5 separate regions of the Homo sapiens genome follow, and all the other regions are linked to region 4. Evidence: promoter capture Hi-C in 16 types of primary human blood cells and fetal thymus (Javierre and others, 2016). All regions are on one chromosome and are shown on one strand. Each heading gives the region's core, a stretch centred on a gene start or on the middle of the fragment in contact. The rest is flanking DNA. Distances are from core to core; before and after follow the strand shown. Region 1 overlaps OR2T11 (olfactory receptor family 2 subfamily T member 11). Region 2 has its middle 13 kb from the start of OR2T27. Region 3 has its middle 13 kb from the start of OR2T10. Region 4 holds the start of ZNF692 (zinc finger protein 692). Region 5 has its middle 9.2 kb from the start of OR14I1.

Region 1 (3,583 bases), core at 739-3,238, 230 kb after region 4:
TCTGTTTAACATAAGGTGAATTCTAACTAGATTAACATCTGCAGTACAATCTCTGGGTGTATAATAACACTTGAAGCTAAAGTTATCTTCAACCTATTAATTGGTACCTGAGTTGAAGAGCTGTCAGAGCAAGGACAGATTCAGAAGACAGAAGAAGTGGCAAGTCCCTCCTTTTTTTGTGAATTATGCTGACATCTTAATTACTCTATAAGTATTTTAAACCAGAGCGTAATTGTCTCAAATTTGTACTGTATATAAACCTTAATGATTTAGAAGTTGTATTGCTGTCTGATCTTAGAAACTTGTTATTTATTTTTCCTAGAATGAAGTTTTTTTTGATCAAATATTGGTGGATCCCATTTTTTTGTCTATTTTGCATTGAAGATAAACACAAGTGCCTAGCATTAAAAAAAATTATTTCTCTTCAGCACATTATATAAAATCAGGAGGTGTTTTGAAGGAATTCTAGAGGTATTCCTTAAAAAGCATAAAATAATTTGCATTTTTGCTAGCTGAATGTGTTTAAAAATGATTTATTCAAAGATTTACAATGTGCCAGTCGTATCTTTAGATGGTGAGAGTACAGTTAACAAAATAGGCACAAATCCTTATTCACATGAAGCTTACTTTCTAGCTTGAAGAGACACAAAACACAAGGTAGTGTCAGACGGTGTTAAGAAAAGTGAAGAAAAATAGTCATAGGACCTCTGAGCAGGTGGCTTTTGAGCAAAGCCCTGAAGTACATGAGGGGATGGATGGCCTTGCACGGTTGGAGGAGGAGCCCCAGGCAAGGGGAGCAGCAGAGGCAATGGCCTGGGCTCAGGGCTCTTGCAAAGTGGGGACAGAGGACAAGGAAGCCACCGTCGCTGCAGCCCAGGGACAGACAGACTGGAGTCGGCGGGAGATCATTTCAGAAGACAAAATGTTCAGAACGTGATGGGCCTTAATGTATGATGTAAAGCACAACTGCAGGGTTTCAAGCAGAAAGTGGCGTGGCGGGATGCACGGGTCCCGATGTGACTTTGATGGTTGTGCTGAGACTAGACTTGGAGGGATTCATGAGACAGCAGGGAGATCGTGGGAAAGTTCGTGGAACAACCAGGGTAAAATGTGTCATGATGGATTAAGCCAGGCACCTACTAGCTATGGACATGAGAAATATTATAGGTTTTTAATTGTTAATAAATAAGTTTTACTTATTCATTTCTTTTTTAGAAACAGGGTCTTGCTCTGTCACCCAGGCTGGAGTGCAGTGGCACAATCATAGCTCTCTGTAACCTCAAACTCCTAGCCTCAAGCAATTCTCCCAACTCGACCTCCTGAGTAGCTGGGACGACTGACGTGCACCACCACGCCTGGCTAGTTTTTTATAAAGACGAGCTCTGTTACCCAGGCTCATCTCAAACTCCTGGCTTCAAGTGATCCTTCCGCCCTGGCCTCCCTAAGTGCTGGGGTTACAGGCATGAACCACCACACCTGGCCTGTTTTTACTGTTTTATACATTTTGGATAAAATGTTTGAATTTGTTTAATATGACAAAGAGATGTGCTCTCTTCTCCTTAGTGTGGGTTAATTCTATTAGGAAGTTTTTGGAGTCTAATATAGAATGTTTCTTTTATATTTTTGGACTTTGAATTAGCAGAATATATTTTTAGGCAATATTTGTGTTCACTATCCTTGGGAAATGGAATAGAATTGAAACGATCAGGAGTGGATCAGGAGGCTAAGACTCACTGAAGTAGAGTTTTGACCACGGAGTATTTCTGGGAGGCCTGACAGAGGAGGCCACAGTCCTTAGCCCCTTTCACAGTAATATGAATATATCAATCAGAGGGAAATTGGGAGTAAGCCAATTTAATTTTGATGTTAGTAAATAACTTTTTTGTTTAGACTCTATTTGTACTGATTCTACTGGTCACTTTTCAAGGTCATAACAATTCTGGTACCTTTGTGAAACCAGATATGACTTCAGCATGGTAAAGGACAACCAGCTAAATTTGAATTTCAGATGTACAGTGAACCCTTTTTTTTGGTGTTAAGAACATTATGAACTTGCACTAAAACATTTTTTGATTATCTGAAAGTCAAACATAGCTGAGAATCCTGTATCTTTGCTAAATCTGGCAACACTAGATAGTGGAGCCAAGGTGTGTCTAGCAACATGTGAATGGGGGGAAACCCTGCAGCATCCGGGCTCCCCCGTTGATCGGACTTTCATTTTTACACAAATGTTTGAGACTCAAGCCACTGAGGCCTACCATGCCGGGGAGGAGGTGCTGGCGGGGAGAGGGGGGCGATTCTTACTACATGTATGGTTCTTTCTCTTGTCTAACAGTTAAATCTATCTTCCACCTGGTATGTTAAAGATAAAATTCCTTCTTAAACGGTGGCCTGTTGCTGTCACATTTCCATGTATCTGCTCCGTAGCTTTCTAAGCCTGAGTTTGGCTCTGGCCTCAGTTCTGGTAAGTGCTGGCAGACGTGTAGCTTGGTGAACCCTGCTCCTGTGTGTCTGCTGCTGACATAGCTTCAACCTACCAACATTTTCCTTTAATTTCCCTGCCCATTTCCCAAACCTACAGTAGCAATGGAGAGCAATGCAGGGAGTCAGCTTAGTGTCATAAACTGCTTTTTAAAAACTTAATTCTGGGAGCTTTTTGCAAATAGTTTTTTTTACCTTCTAATTTATCTGAAGAAAGATCTGCAAAAAGGTTAGCAAAACAGCACAAAGAACAGTGAGGAGTCCCAACTTTAGACATAAACAGTGGAATAATAGGCATCGAAGGCTTGGAAGAGTAGGGGGTGAAAGCGGAGCGAGGGGTGAGAAATTAGTAATGTGAGCACAACCTACGCTATTTGACTTACGGTTACCCTAAAAGACAAGACTCCACTATGCGATACATCCATGTCATGACACTGCACTTGTCGTCCTTAAACTTATACAAATAATTAAAAAGAAATAGAACAGAAACATGGGGCTTCGTGAATAAAACGTTCCCTAATAGTTATCCTAACCCTTCATTTCTTCAGTGATTTACTTCACTCCCCTTTATCCATTTGGTCAATGAATCACCCTTTTTTCCAACTAGTATTTACTTAACCCTACTATGGGCTGGATAACTTTCTGGATACAAGAAATGCAGCATGGACAGAACAGATATGGTTAAAACCCCATTCTTGGTGTAGCATACAGCAATTGTATCACGCAGTTACCATAACCTCCAGCAGCATGATGAACCATAGACGCAATATAGAAGGAGCTGTTCTCTGACAGGGAAATGCAGCCATGGTTTTTGCTTCATGATGTGCATGTTGGTCTGCCTGTTCTTCTCTAGCCTCTAGCCTGGAAGCTTCATCCTGACGGTACCCTCAGAAGTGTCACCTCTACTGCAGACCTTTCCCATCTTGACCGTGTTCTCTTGCCTCCTTCCTGGTCCTTGTGTCTTCCCGTTGCCCTGGGACGCTCGTGGGCCATATCAATGACGAACACATCATCCTCTGACTTCACCCTCCTGGGGCTTCTGGTGAACAGTGAGGCTGCCGGGATTGTATTTACAGTGATCCTTGCTGTTTTCTTGGGGGCC
Region 2 (3,838 bases), core at 1,293-3,792, 190 kb after region 4:
TTTGGATTTGTATAATAGCCTTTGAATTTGACAAAGATTATTTTCCTTTTAATAAGAACATATTTTTATGTCTTTATTATAATTTCTTTTCCATAAAAATATTTACTTTGGTACTCTCTAAATACAGAATTATATATTAACTAGAATTTTTATTCTTAGAACCTTAAATTTTTGTGAAAACCTAGGAAGTAGTAAATCTTGAATTGTCTGTCATATATCAGTATTTTATAGATGAGAACCATTTTATATTATTTTAGAAATATGTTTTTCTGTTTTTTAAATTAGAAATGATCCAGACACTTAATGAGTATTATTTACTTTAACTTTAAGATTTTAAATTATATGACAAGTTCATTTATAAGCATTTATGCCATTAAAGCTACCTAATTTATTTTTTAAAACAGTTTTCCTAGGTTACTTACAAAAACTGACATATTAGACAAAGCTAGTCATCATTAAAGTTATTTTTCAGCTAACCATTCTTATAGGCTGTGAATATTTCAGGTGTTTACCTACATAAGAACCAAATGTTAAATATATGTTTATTTGATTTTTTTTTGGCCAACCACTAAGGTTTTACCTATTTTCAATAAATCAACAGTATTAAATGTCTTATTTATAAAAAATTACACAATGATCATTAAGGGATGGGTTTTAAAGTTTTATAACCTTCATGACAAAGTTTGGTACCTTATAATACAAACACCGCTAAATATAAAACTATTTCACCAATAAATCCAGACAAAAATGTATGCTGACAATTCTGAAGGCATTTCAAATTTTATTTTACTAATAATTATAAAGCCAGCTTATTTATTGAAGATTTACTTGTCATGTGAACTTGAAGAGCATTTGGACTTTATGAGTAATCCTTTATTTTTAAGCCCATTTGATACCTTGCAGTTACAACATATAAGAAAATACATGTACATGTAACATAAACACAACTCAACATAGATACACAGATACAAAGATCCCATAGGTTTTATTTCAGAACTCTAGTCACAAGACAGCAATACAGATTCACCAGCTTGCAAAAGATGGTTTAATTTAAACAATGGGTTTTATCTCAAAACCAGTAGAAAAGCAACAGTACATTTAAAACAGAAAAATAAAATAGAGAAATTGAGAATTTAGGAGATGCTATATTTAATTCTATAGTTGCAGGTCAACTTTGAGCTCTGAATTTACCCATCAGTTTAAAAATGTGCCAGAACAGACTATAATACATAACCAGCCAGAGTACTAGAAAACCAAGCATGCTCTCAAACCTTCACATTTACACAAACATTTGCAAGTAGAGTGCCATAAAACCCCCAGGGGTGCCCCAAAGGAGGTCATCTCCTTGTCTTTTCTCAATCTTTGAGAATTTGCTTTGCAAGTTTTTTTTTTTGTTTGTTTGTTTTTTAGTGGAGGAGCCAGACTGTAGCGTGGGTTTCAGTGCAGTGGGGCTCAGAAGTTGTCTCTCATTCACTTATACAAACATCAGGTTTTTCAAGCAAATGCACAGATGAACCAATTGAGACTAATTTTTGGAGAAAAAAGCAATGGAGAAAACTCTAGAATGAACCTGTGAATCCAAAATTAGAATCTGAAACAAGTTCCCAGGAAAAGACCAGCTCAGAATAAACCAAAGTACTATTAACTACATAAGGGATCTGTGGCTCAGGAGTACTTACTTACCAGTTCCACCTATGGAGAACCTCAAAGTCAGGAGGCTTTCAATAAGCCTGCAGCAGGAGAATATGGTCTGGAGACCTGGAGACAGGGAACTTAAGGCCAATTTATGCTAACTTCCTAAAAGAGAAAACACCAAGGTCTGGGAGCAGGACCTGGACAACTTGTAGTCAAGACTTTCCACTGGTAACAAGCCCAAATTGGTACCTTATTTCCAAGTTCACATGACTCCTTTTGGGGAGAAGAGTCCTTAGTCTTCTCTGAGGTCCTGCATTGGGCACCAAATAATGTTGATGAAGAAAAGTGAAACTCTAAAATATTTGAAGAGGTTTATTCTGAGCCAAATGGCCCAGGACACAGCCCCAGATGGTCCTGAGAATATGTGCCCAATGTGGTTGGGTTATAGCTTGGTTTGATACATTTTAGGGAGACAAAAGTTACAATCAAAGAGATAAATCAATACATGAGGGATATACATTGGTTCCAGAAAGTTTAGACATCTTAAAGTCAAGGTTTACAAGTCAAAAATAGATTCAAAGATTTTCTGATTGGCAACTGTTTGAGTTAAGCTTTGTCTAAAGACTTAAAATGTCAGTAGAAAGGAATGCTTAAGATTACATAGTTGTGGAAGCCAAGGTTTTTGTTATAGAAAGAAATGCTCGAGTTAAGATAACGGGGTCCTGGAAGCCAACGTTCTTGTTATGTAGATGAAGTTTCCATGTAGCAGGCTTTAGAAAGAATAGTTGACAAATGTCTCTCTTGCACCTTAGAAGATGTCAGACTCTCATTTACTCTCTCCTGGATCTGGAAAAGGCTTAGCGGCATTAATCAAGTTTCTCTACAGATGCAAAATTTCCCCCACAAAAGATACCTTTGCAGGACCATTTCAAAATTTGTCAAATAAGTATGTTCCAGGGTAAAGTATTTTTATTTACTTCATGGTTTGCTATCTGTCATGTGGTGCTATATGAGAGTCAGGTTGAAATTTAGTATCTTATTACCACCTAGAATCTGTTTTGTCAGTCTCATGATCTCTGTTTTAATGTTAATGCTGGTCAGTCATTTAGCATTCAATGGTAATGCTAGAGACCTCAAGTGTTTAGTTTAACTCTTTCAACCAACTGCCAGTCAAGAATTTTTTAATCAACCTATGAAAGCTTCTAAGTAGCAGGCTTCAGAGAGGATAGATGGTAAAAGGTGTCAGACTCTTAGTTAAATGTTTTCTGGATCCTCACGAGGACTTAGAAAGGGAAGCAAATTCTATACAGAATTCAGATTTCCCCCAGAAGAATTGGCTTTGCAGGGCCATTCCAAAACATGTCAAAGAAATACATTTTGGGGTAAAATATTTTATTTCCTTCAGGGCCTGTTACCTGTCATGTGATTCTACACCAGAGTCAGGTTGGAATCTGCTATTGTTGCTACAGTCTGTTTTGTCAGTCTTATAATCACTGTGTTAATGTCAATACTGGTCAGTTTTGCCTAAACTCCAAAGGGATGGCATACAAGGAGTCATGTCTGACCTCCCTTCCCGCATGGCCTGAACTAGTTTTTCAGATTTCTTTGAGATCTCCCTGGGCAAGAGAGTTTCCAATCAGTCAATGACAGGGCTTGGGATTTATTATTATTATTATTATTATTTTCTGAGGTTGCAACACAAAGCCCAAGTAGGAGGTCTAATTTTGGATAGAGGCAGAAACACTGTCTCATGGAATGCAAGAGTAAATACAATAAAATGAGAGAGATGGAAAATAGAGTACACTCAACTATGTTGCTTATTTTCAGTCTTCTGATGCCTAATCCCTCATTGTTTTGTAGTCACATGGTTATTTCTTGGTTCTTTTATAACATTTTTCACAACTGGATTGCTATGATTGTGCAGACACTGTCTACTAGAGTCAAATTTTGTTTTGAAATAGTTCATTATTTTATTTAACTGCATAAACTAGTTTAGTCTATGATGAGTTAATAGACAGATGTGAAAAATTTTAAACTCCTCTGTCAGGGTTCAGAACATGATCCTTCCAAATATGGCTTCTTGATGAAATCTAAAAGTAAAATCCTAAGCCGCCCAATCAACTGAATGGATCCCCCTTCTTGGCCAGTGGAGCTGAGAGCAATCTGAAAAAGTAAATTTCAGGCCATGAGGGAAGGGGGATTG
Region 3 (3,599 bases), core at 1,046-3,545, 250 kb after region 4:
TGGGTTTCAACTCTCTCCCGAATCTTGATGGTCTTCATTCCTATCTATATTCTGAATCCTATTTCTGTCATTTCAACCATTTTAGACTACTTAAGAACCCTAGTTGGGGGAGCTAGTGCATTTGTTTGGAGAAAAGATGCTCTGGCTTTTTGAGTTGCCAGAGTTCTTGCACTGGTTCCTTCTCATCTGTGTGGGCTCATGTCCCCTTCACTGTGGTGTAACTTGAGTACAGTCAGTTGACTTCTGGATGTTTTCAGAGGGCCCAAGGCTTTGTGCAGGGTCTTTACTCATAGCTGAGTTCTTGGCCTTGGTTTCATGGGGAGGTATATTAGAGTATTTTTGGTGTCGAAGTTTGGGCTGTGATCCAGTAGATGGTGCTTAAGCATAATGGCCGGTAGATAGAGGAGCCGTGGGGCTGAACAAGGGCCTATTTTCTCACAATTGCAGGCTTGCTCCCTCTCAGTGCTCTGAAAGTGTGGGCTCCTCTTCCTCCTTTAGTGCTGGCTGTAGATCTCAGCTTGGTACTCCTGGGCTACAGGCCACACCTCTGGGGTGACTCAGGCTTTATGTTCCCCTCAGCCTGGAGGCAGTGTGAGCAGGGTCCTGGCAGTGTTGTGGAAGAGGGCCTTTCACATGTTTCTTGGGCCCCATCCCAGAGAAATGCAGAGCTGCTACCAATAGGTGTGGTCAGCCCAGAGTGGGGCAGCTGTGTTTGGGCCCAAACCAGGGGGCCCTGCGTGGTGACAAAAAAAATTCATGTCAATAATTTCTTATGATTAAAACTATATTATCTTTTTAAAACATCTTTTTCACTCTATAAATACATCTGTGAGTGCTATACATAATTTAAGACATAGATGGAACTAAAAGGAGAAATAAAGGTATAAAATAAATCCTACCACATTTACTATAAAATTTTTTCTTTGTAAAAATTTTAGTTTATTTTGTTTTTAATCGACTCATAACAATTGTATATTTTTATGGGGTATGGGGTGATGTTTTGACACATATATACATTGTATAATGATCAAGTCAGAATAAAAATTTTCAAAATAGGATTTTGAAAATTGTTTTTAATTGACAATTGTATATATATTTGGGTACAGTGAGATATTTCAATACATGTACACATTGTGGAATGACCATGTCATGATAATTAACATATCCATCTCACATACTTATTTTTTGTGGGAGAAAATGATATTTTTAATATATAGATACATAGATATATTAAAATACTATAGATTAGAATCATGCTGTATATAGCTCTACATCTGCATAAATATTCTTGTGTACATATTTTCAGTGTTTACTTTTTAAAAATATTGTTTTGAATATAACTTCACAATTTACCTTAATAACAGAATCTGAGTTTTCTTATTTCCAATGTAGATTTCTTCCAATTTTTTACTAATCTAAAACAATACTATAATGAATATCTGTGTAAGGAATTCCTTTATTGTATCGGTTATTACATTTTTATTAAACAGTGTCCCTTTCATGTTCATATACTCGGGTTGTACCCGTCAGTGATCTACCCCGGCATACCACAAAAGGCCGCACTGGTGTTTTCACTGACTCACAGCAACACTGATAATCACACATTTTTTTGCCTCTCTGTTATTCAACAAATTAATGGACATTTTTGTGCTTTTTGTCATTGTCTTATTTTGTATGTACAAGTCTTCCACAAATTGTTTACTAACATGTTTGTGTCATTTTAAAAATTGCCATGTCTGTCTTATGAATATGCAAGAGAATCTTACACATTACCGATCCTCAGCCTTTGATTCGTCATGTGAACCATAAATTTCCTAATTAGAAAAAATTTGTTTTATTCAGAGATTGTTTTCAGTTTTCAAATACTAATTTTACTTTCCATGTTTTCTTCATTGCCTTTGCTCACCGTTTAGCTAAATCTTTACCCATTCATGTGTCTTGTTTTATATTTTTATTTTCCACATGTAAACCTTTAATCGATTTGATATTTTAAATTAATGTGATAACAGGACCTAGTTTCACCTAACTTTTTACTAAATTTTCATAATAATTTACTGAGTAATGCTTCCTTAGTTCAGTGAATCACAATGGAAAGTTTGAGACTTGTAGTATTTTCCCAGAATTGTGTTGCAGTCGTGCCAAGGAACCACACATTTCACTGGTTAATTTTTTACCATAACCATTGACAATCTATTGAGGAGAAATAACTTTTCTGTTTTCATCAGATTATGGCACTAGAAATTTTCAGTGACTTTGTTGAGTAACATTTAATAGCTTAATATGCAGGTTTCGATTCTAAGTAGACCATAGCTTCATTAAGGCTGACCCTGATTAGTATACATGAAATGTTTAAACTTGTAAAACAAACTTTTGAATTTCTTTTAAAATGACACTTTAGTAAACAATTCACTACCTAACTCTTCATGCCTTTGAATGTGATTTTAAAAATTCACAGCTGAAATATGAAAAATAAATGTATAGTAATATTTCTGCAACAAAAGTCACAAATAGAGTAATGTGGTGGCTTCTTTAGTGTGGGTGTGTTTTAACAGCAAATTCTACGATAAATTTATAGCACAAGATCCTTGTGGCTGAATAGAGCACAATGATAATTTAAGCATCTTCAAATACTCAAGTTCTGTAGAACTTAGTATAGTTCCCTTCAACTCCAGGGAAATGTTGTGCCTCCTAAATTTACACACGTCTAATTTTTTTTTCTTAATTTTCTAATAGTTTCACCTCGGAAGTGTAAGCAGCTTACCTGGGTGGGAAAGCAGGTCATGGCAGGGCTGGCCAGGTCATGGGCCGGCCTGCCCTGGAATCCCCTGCAGACCTTGCTTGTCTCCAGCTCTTCTCTCAGGCTCTCCCACTCTGAGTGAGTCTCCAGCTAAATACAAGGCATGATGTAGAATTAGGAAATGGAAAGAAAGGTGCAATCACTTTTTTCCACGAAGGGAAAAAGCATAAGGAACACGGAGGAAACTGGGCTTCTCAGGAGGTCCCTGGGCTCTTCTATTCTTGCAGGTAATTAGGGGGCTAGTCCCGAAAGGTTACGAAGACCAAGAGAATTGTTTAAAATGCTTCCTTTGTTTTCAGTAAATGAACTGAGCTACCATTTTAACTGTTTTCAAGTTGATTGTTTTAAATTAATCCTCTCAATATAATTAAGTAGTGGATTTGCCGATTATAAATTCTAAATGTTGCCAGGCATTGGTTTATTCACTCCACAGTCAGGTGCCTGCTTTGTGCCCATTCCTATGCTGGTCACTGGGGGCACAGTAAGGACAAAAGAGAGGCAGAAAGATTTAAGACAATATCCTTTATCAGTCTGAATTAAATTGCATGTGTTATTAGATAACTAAAGATAGGAGAGACTGAAGAATTCAAAGCAAGGTTTACAGAAAAATGATGGAGATGAGGTTCTGATGTTTAAGAGAAATGATAAAAACAGCCAAATTTGGTCTCAGACATGTAACAATGGATAGGACAGAATATACAAGACAAGGCTGTAAAACATTGCGTCGCTTGGTGTCCTATGAAAGCTATGTAGCATATATAAAGGATCCAAAAGGTTTCAAATACATTTCAAAACTCATATC
Region 4 (4,063 bases), core at 1,564-4,063:
AAAGTTACACTTTCATTAATGAGTAAAGTAGCTGGAAAAGTTACACATTCATTAATGAGTAAAGTAGCTGGGACATCTTCCTTCCTACCTTACACTAGTCAGACAAGTATGTTGAGTCACTGATACCACAAATCAAAAGGAATATGCACAGGACACACTGGGCTCATCCTAAGGGTGTTCATGTTTGCACACCATGTCATTTGAGATATTTAGGCTGCAGAGGAGAAGGCTGGGCTAGTCAACAATCATCGTATACCAATAACAAACACACAAACAAGTCCCTGAGATGATTTCAGAAAGTAAGTGCCATGAAGAAGATACAATAGGGCACAGTGAGGTAGAGCATGACTGAGGAAAGGGAGCTTTCTGAATGAGGGATTTTATAGCTGAGTGGGTGATCTTATAGCCGAGATTTACAAGATGAGAAGGGAGCAAACAGATGAACAGCTGGGTGGTGGGCTGGGGGATGGGGTGGGGGCTGAGGGGAGAATTGAGTGCTCCAGAGACAAAAGAACTCCCTCTAGGATACTTGGCACACTTGAGAAATAGCAAAAAGGTGGGAGGACAAAGTGGGAAAAGTTGGGGGATGATGCCAGAGAAGAAGCCAAGGGCCCAATTAAGTAGGTCCTTGAGGCCATGATAAGGATTTTGGATTGCACCACTCACAGATTTTAAGCAAAAGATTTGATCTTTGAGGAAATTTTCCCTGCTTTGTGAGAGTACAAGTTAAAGTAGGAGGCAGATCCATTAGGAAGATGTAGCCACAGACCAGGTGAGAGATGATAGTGGTATGGTAGGCTTAAAAATAGTCCCAGAAAAGATATCTGTGTCCTAATCCCCAAAACTTGTGGAGATTACTTTATTTTATTTTAGATGGAGTCTTGCTCTGTCACTCGGGCTGGTGTGCAGTGGTGCAATTTCGGTTCACTGCAACCTCCTCCTCCTGGGTTCAAGCAATTCTTCTGCCTCAGCCTCCCGAGTAGCTGGGATTATAGGCCCATGCCACCATGCCCAGCTAATTTTTTTTGTATTTTTAGTAGAGACAGGGTTTCACCATGTTGGGCAGGCACATCTCAAACTCCTGACCTCAAGTGATCCACCCGCCTTGGCCTCCCAAAGTGCTGGGATTACAGGCGTGAGCCACCGTGTGCAGCCGATTACTTTATATGGCAAATACTTTACAGAAGAAATTGTCTTAGGATACTGAGATGGAGAGATTATTTGGATTATAAGGATGGACTCTAAATGCATTCACAAGCATCCTTGTAAGAGAGAAGCAGAGGGAGATTTGACACAGAAGGAGGCAATGTGACCTCAGAGACAGAGATTGGAGTGACGTGGCCACAAGTCAGAGAATGCTGGCCACCATTAGAAGCTAGAAGAAGCAAGGAAAGGATTCTCCCCTAGAGCCCTTACAATGGCCTGTGGCCCTGCTGATGCCTTGGCCTCCAGAACTGTGAGAAAATAAATTTGAGTAAAGGGAGCAAGTTTGTGGCTGAAAACAACACACAACACAATTTGTTACAACAATTACAGAAAATTAATACCAGTGGCTTGGAGTAGGGTTTTAGCAGTTGAGAGGGTCAGAAGTGATTGGATTTAAGATAAATTTTTGGAGACAGGACCAACAAGATTTGCTGATGTATATGGTTTAGGTATCATAAAAGGCAAAGAATCAAGGCTGATTCCCTTTTTTCTGAACAAGTGGGTGGATGATGACATAGTTTACTGGCATGGGGGAGGGTACAGGCGTTATTGTTATATGTTTGCCATATTTATGTTGGAGAAAATATCAGCTATCATGTGTCAGCGCTCTCTACATGCCAGGCACTGTCCTACATTCTTTACACGTGTTAGCTCAGTTAACACATGTAAGTCAAGCGGGCAGTAAGATATATGACTGGAGTTGAAAGAGGGCTAGGCTAGGAGCCATCAGTGTATTTAAAGCCATGGAACTAATTAGATCACCCAGGAGAACATATGCAGACGAGAGAAGATCTGGTTCAAGGCCTGAGCCAGGGCACACTTCATCTTTTGGCAGAACAGAGGGAATGGATCCAAAAAAAGGATAGAAGGAGCCAGTGAGGAGGGTGGAAAACCTGGAGCATATGAAGTCACAGAAGTAAAACTGGGGCCCAAAATGTAGAGGGAGCCATAAAGATGAGGAGGACGAGAGCTACATAGTCGCGCTCTTTCTAGGGCAGAGAGGCGGACGGAACTGACAGCTGCTATGTAGCAATATGACCGTCTCAAGTGACCTTGTGAAGCGCCACTGCAGTGGCTGGGTGGGGAGGAAAGCTCCATCAGAGCCATTTGAAGAGAAGAGGATGGGAAGTGAGCGTACACAGAGAATGCAGGCAACTTTTAGGAGGAATTCTGATGGTAATAGAAGTGGGCTGTAGCTGGTGGGACTCTGCGGTCCACAGAGGGCTCTAGCTGGACCCTCTGTGGGTCTTTCAAAGTGACTGATTCTGCATCATGTTTGCGGGTGGCAACTGTGAGGGGGAAATCGAAGGTGAATACAAAACGGGAACAAGTGAAGAGGCAACGTCCCCATACAGGCCGGGTGGGCTGGGGTTGGAGCACAGGAGGCCTGACCCTGTCTCTTCCACTTTCCCTCAAACCTTTGGTCACCAAGCGCAGACGCTCACCACAGAAGCCACCCAACCACAACTGCCGCGGGGCTCCGCGACACGCGCGGGCGACTTGAGTCGGGCAACCACGATTCCCGGCGGGCGTTGCGCGGGGCACCCAGTGCGCAGGCGCACGGCGTCGGCCTCCGACTCGCCCCTCCCTCTGGGGCGCGGGCCTCAGTTCCGGGCTACAGCAGCCGACGCCGAGAGGCACCGTTTCTTCTTAAAAGAGAAACGCTGCGCGCGCGAGGTGGGCCCCTGTCTTCCAGCAGCTCCGGGCCTGCTCGCTAGGCCCGGGAGGCGCAGGCGCAGGCGCAGTGGGGGTGAGGGCGCGTGGGGGCGCACAGGTAAGGCCGGGGTGGGGGTGGGTCGCGACGGGGGCTCTGGGCAGCCTGGGAACTGCCATTGGGATTAGTCCGCTCCACTCACTGTCAGCATTAAGTGGGGGTGCCCAAGACGGGGTGGATGGGGGGCGCCCTCCAGACCTCTGACCACGGCCTCACCGCCACTCGACCCAACTATGAAGAGCGCCCCCAGCTGCACGCCAGGACACGACCTTTCCTTCCCCTAGAAACCAGTAAAGGCCGCTGCCCTATTCAAGATGAAATGTGTGGACCGCCCCCAGCCCAGTTGAAATTTCCCGTGAAAGTCTCTCGCCCCTTCCCCACAGCTCCACTTCAGTGGACTGGAGGGCGCAGGCCTTTGTTCTGACTGCTTCTGTCTGCCTGCCTCCCACCCGACGACACTCACATGGTAGCGCTGAGCTTCAACACCCTGTATCATAGAAGGACGGGGTTTGGCTCCACACCTGCCACTGCTATTGAAATAGTTTAGTCTTGCCCCAGTTCACTGATGAGGAAACTGAGGCCCTAACGGCAGGTGGAGCCGGGTCCCCGACCCCCGAGATCGGCAGGGCGCTGAAGACGTCCCTTCCACCCTCCAGCCTCTGGTGCACATGGCTTCCTCCCCGGCGGTGGACGTGTCCTGCAGGCGGCGGGAGAAGCGGCGGCAGCTGGACGCGCGCCGCAGCAAGTGCCGCATCCGCCTGGGCGGCCACATGGAGCAGTGGTGCCTCCTCAAGGAGCGGCTGGGCTTCTCCCTGCACTCGCAGCTCGCCAAGTTCCTGTTGGACCGGTTAGGGGCCGGGAGAAGGGCTTGGGGGAGGGTACCCAGGCAGCAGCCCCTAGCCTCCTCTCCAGGGCCTGTCCTGCTGCTCTTTTCCACCCTCAGGTTTCTCACTTTACCAGGACGGCCTGTGTGACTTGTGGCCTCCGAGGGTCCTGCTCCCCTCCTCATGGTCTCAGCGAATAGCGGCCCTTAGGGCTGGCCCCTTACATGTGTGAGTGCCCAGGGCTGAGGGTGGCTGGCCACCTGAGTCCTGACCTGCCTCTTCTCCTGCTGGCAGGTACACTTCTTCAGGCTGTGTCCTC
Region 5 (3,774 bases), core at 616-3,115, 150 kb after region 4:
ACCATCCTAGAGTCAGGAATAAAACTCAAACTCATCTTCCCTGTTGGGAGCGAGCTCCAACTCCATAGAGGAATTACCTGCCTTCCATCATCATGGAAGCAAGAAATCTTGCCTTCCTTGTTGGAAGCAAGTAAAACTTCAAAAAATGGAGTTGTACGGCAAAATAAACTTCAGATCTTAACCAAATTTTGGGAGATCAGGTATTCTCTGTGAAGCAGTATTGTTTGTCTGGGGTAATACCTGAGGTTTGTTGCCTGACACCAAGGAAATCAAGGACACAAACACACCAGAGTGAAGTTAAGTGTGGAAGTTTAATAGGCTAGAGAAAGAAAAAAAACTCTCTCTCCAGAGAGAGAAGGGGTTCCAAGTGGGTCTTCTGGTTTCGTGATGAAATGCATGTGGTTTTATGGATTAGCTTGAGGAGGCATAGTGTGATTTACACAGGAGACGAGAGATTGGGAGGAGCAGGTGTGCCATTTACATAGCACACAAAGAAGCTGGCAGCCCCATCCTAATCTTTTATTATGCAGATGGGTCCCCTACCTGGCTGGCACCATGTTGTCTGTTCCTTTACTGTACATGTGATTGAAAGAGAAAAGGGAAGATGGAGCCTCCATGTTGAACATGCCTGGCCCCCAGGTAGCCTTTTCCTATTGGCACAACTGCCAGCACTCACCCATGCAAGCTTCTAGCTTGCTTTTCCATGTCTGCAGCTTGATTTTTCAGGCTGCTCTTTGTTAGAAAAGAAATGATTTGGGGTCTGCTTTTTATTAAAAGCAAAACCTTGCTAAGGACTCTCTTACCCTCATTAACTGCCTAAATAATTTCTTTCTAGCTCCTGTATCATCTGGAGGGGGTGCTCCCAGACCTCAGCAAATTGTCCTATTGGTTTGAGCCATAAAGTTAGCTCATGCGGGTACCAAGCACCAATAGGAGATTTTTCAAAGGTCAAGGGGCATCTCCATTCAGAATCCCTCCACAGTTAACAAAATGTGAATCCTGTATATCTGAGATAGGTCTCAGTTAATTTAAAAAGTTCATTTTGCCAAGGTTGAGGATGCACACAAAGGACATAGCCTCAGGTTGTCCTGAGGACATGTGCCCAAGGCGCTCAGAGCGCAGTTTGGTTTTATACATTTTAGGGAGACATGAGACATCAATCAACATATGTAAGATGAACATTGGTTCAGTCTGGAAAGACAGGACAACTCGAAGCAAAGGCAGGACAACTCGAAGCAGGGAGGGAACTCCCAGGTCATAGGTAGATAAGAGACAAATGGTTACATTCTTTTGAGTTTCTGACTAGCCCCTCCAAAGACCAAATGCAATCAGATATGCATTTATCTCAGTGAGCAGAGGGGTGACTGAATAGAATAGGAGGCAGGTTTGCCCTAAGCAGTTCCCAGCTTGACTTTTCCCTTTAGCTTAGTGATTTTGGGGCCCCAAGATTTATTTTCCTTTCACAAAGTCTCCAACTATTATTACATTAGGGGTCTATCTCTCCCTTTAGATCTAATTGTATTTGCTTTACATTGGTGCTCCAGTGTTGGGTGCATATATATTTATAATTGTTATACCTTCTTGCTAAATTTATTTCTTCATCATTATTTAATGATTTTCTTTGTCTATTTTTATGTTTTTTGACTTAAAGTCTATTTTGTCTGACATAAATAGAGCTATTCTTGGATGCTTTTGATTTCCATTTGCATGGAATATTATTTTCCATCCCTTTACTGTCAGTCTTCATCCCATTGGTGGCATTCATGGGTGCTGGTGTTGGTGGTAGCAGGCTCTGGGCAGGCCATTCCTTTAGCCCTTGGGCAGTATGTGCAGGTGTGAGATGACACTACCACTAGAGTGGATGTGTCCTGCAGCAGAAGCAGCAAAAGCCCAGGCAGGTGGCTTTCAGGGTCTGGGGAGCACACACACCAGTCTTCTGGCTCCACAGGGTATAAGGGGCTGCATGGGCTCAGGTGCCAGGGTCACAGCTGCACAGCTATAACAGATCTCAGTTGTGTCTTTATGCAGCAACACTCTGGGTACCTGTGGTGGGATGTGGATGAGACCCCAGGGATGGATGTGGAGATGAAGGAGCAATTGGGCCCCTGGACAGTATGTACTCTGGTGATGGCTCCACTCCCAAAATGGTGCCATGCTGCAGCCCTGGGTCCTGGGACATTGGGGGAATCCAGCATAAATTCTCTCTCTGGAGTAGTAAAGTCATGTGGACTCTAGGCAGTACCCTATACTAGACTAAGGGACTGTGAGGGCTGAGGGCTCTCCTGTAGCTATGACTGCAGGTGTCTGGTGGAAATATAGACTTCTGGGGACCTCCTGCTAACCTTTTCTCCGCAATGGGGAGGGAGTCCCTCCTGGCTCCAAGCACATCTCGGTAGGCTGCATTGCTTACCTCTCTATGCTGTCATCCTGAGTTTTTGTGCCTCAAAGTTTCTTTTCTTTGAATTTGAACACTATCTGCTGAATTCCAGTGTTCTTCCTTAGACATTCTAGTCAATGTGTGTTTATCAATTTGTTACTTTGGTCCTTCTTTGTGGAGAAGGTGAGTGCTAGGCATCTCTAGCCATTTGATCTCTCTGTCTTCTTTTGAGCTACTGACTCTTAAAAAACCTTTTTATTGTGGCAAAATATACATAGCATAAAATTTGCCATTGAAACCATTTTCAAGTGTATAACTTAGTGTCATTAAGTACATTCACCACGTTGTGTAACCACCTCTACTATTCATCTCTGAAACATTTTCACAATCTCAAACACAAACTCTACACATTAAATAATTGTGCTTATGCTTAATTTTCACTCAACTATGTACATTTTTGATTCCCTATTTATATCTCCCTATTTTATCTTTATAAGATACAAAGATATAAATGAAGAGCAGCATGAAATTGCATCAACATTCAAGTTTGTTGTGTTCTTTTTCCAGCTTTTCTTCTACTGCCCTATATAATTATCATTCTCTTTAAAATACATACGCTATTGCAACTGGATTCATTTTTAGAAACTGGTTTTCAAACAAAAGCTTAAAATCTCCATAACCGGCTGTGGATATTGCTGCCGTTGCTGGTTTTGAAACTACATTTTCTCGTAACCTCTTGTGAAATTTCTTCAGGACACTAGGCAGATGAAGCAAGCTTAACTCTGTCAGTAGGATGAAATATGTAGTTTTAAACTTCCCTAATTGTTTTAAACTTTTTTAAACATTCCTAAATAAAATAAACTTCCCTAAATAAGAGAAAACTTCCCTAAATAAGATTGTTTTAAACTTCCCTAAATAAGATAAAAACCACCCACCACAAAACTCAGTGTACAATGTGACCTAAACTAATAATTCTCATGTTTTTGCCTCTCATCATGTGGGGACTACAGGTCTTCATGAACACTGGCACTTCTGAGTACAAAGAATAGAATCAGCAAAGGAGAGTTATCTGGACCTCAGTTTCATCTAATTGTTGTTGTATTATTTTAAGGTGTTGCTTTTCTTAAATAGCTTAAAAAGGGAAAAGATTGTGTTTAGCCATTAAAAGTAAAAAGGAAAGGTAACAAAAGACTGTTAACGTTTCCAAAGAAAATATACAAATGGCCAGAAATCCCATGAAAATATGCTCAACATCATTAGCCACCACGGAAATGCAAATCAAAACCACAATGAGATTAGCCAGGAATGGTGGCGTGTGCCTGTAGGCCCAGCTATTTGGGAGGCTGAGGCAGGAGGACCGCTTGAACCCAAGAGATTGAGGTTACAGTGAGCTGATT

Evidence for each region. Contacts are between HindIII fragments. The CHiCAGO score rates a contact against its expected background, and 5 or more counts as called.
Region 1: a contact is called between a fragment that was not itself captured here and the fragment with the promoter of ZNF692 in region 4, in 5 of 17 cell types (total B cells, naive B cells, M0 macrophages and 2 more). The highest score is 15.4, in total B cells.
Region 2: a contact is called between a fragment that was not itself captured here and the fragment with the promoter of ZNF692 in region 4, in 2 of 17 cell types (naive B cells and total B cells). The highest score is 6.0, in naive B cells.
Region 3: a contact is called between a fragment that was not itself captured here and the fragment with the promoter of ZNF692 in region 4, in 4 of 17 cell types (total B cells, naive B cells, activated CD4 T cells and 1 more). The highest score is 10.8, in total B cells.
Region 5: a contact is called between a fragment that was not itself captured here and the fragment with the promoter of ZNF692 in region 4, in 7 of 17 cell types (neutrophils, monocytes, M0 macrophages and 4 more). The highest score is 16.2, in neutrophils.

The regions. Positions count from the first base shown.
Region 1 is chr1:248,627,024-248,630,606 of GRCh38, reverse strand. OR2T11 (olfactory receptor family 2 subfamily T member 11) reads left to right here. Exons shown (of 2, transcript NM_001001964.2): 2 at 3,335-3,583. The coding sequence starts at 3,479. Among named protein-coding and RNA genes, the nearest start is that of OR2T11, 6.3 kb to the left of the region's middle. The HindIII fragment of the contact is 2,727 bases long and covers 625-3,351 here.
Region 2 is chr1:248,666,197-248,670,034 of GRCh38, reverse strand. No RefSeq gene overlaps it. Among named protein-coding and RNA genes, the nearest start is that of OR2T27, 13 kb to the right of the region's middle. The HindIII fragment of the contact is 588 bases long and covers 2,249-2,836 here.
Region 3 is chr1:248,609,029-248,612,627 of GRCh38, reverse strand. No RefSeq gene overlaps it. Among named protein-coding and RNA genes, the nearest start is that of OR2T10, 13 kb to the right of the region's middle. The HindIII fragment of the contact is 6,444 bases long and covers 1-3,599 here.
Region 4 is chr1:248,857,835-248,861,897 of GRCh38, reverse strand. ZNF692 (zinc finger protein 692) reads left to right here and starts at 2,813. Exons shown (of 12, transcript NM_017865.4): 1 at 2,813-2,980; 2 at 3,577-3,767; 3 at 4,039-4,063. The coding sequence starts at 3,589. It overlaps ZNF692-DT (ZNF692 divergent transcript), which reads right to left and starts at 2,734. Exons shown (of 3, transcript NR_186117.1): 1 at 2,652-2,734. RefSeq lists enhancers at 2,329-2,478, 3,279-3,328, 3,929-4,008 and a silencer at 2,619-3,118. The HindIII fragment of the contact is 15,686 bases long and covers 1-4,063 here.
Region 5 is chr1:248,710,076-248,713,849 of GRCh38, reverse strand. No RefSeq gene overlaps it. Among named protein-coding and RNA genes, the nearest start is that of OR14I1, 9.2 kb to the right of the region's middle. The HindIII fragment of the contact is 2,355 bases long and covers 688-3,042 here.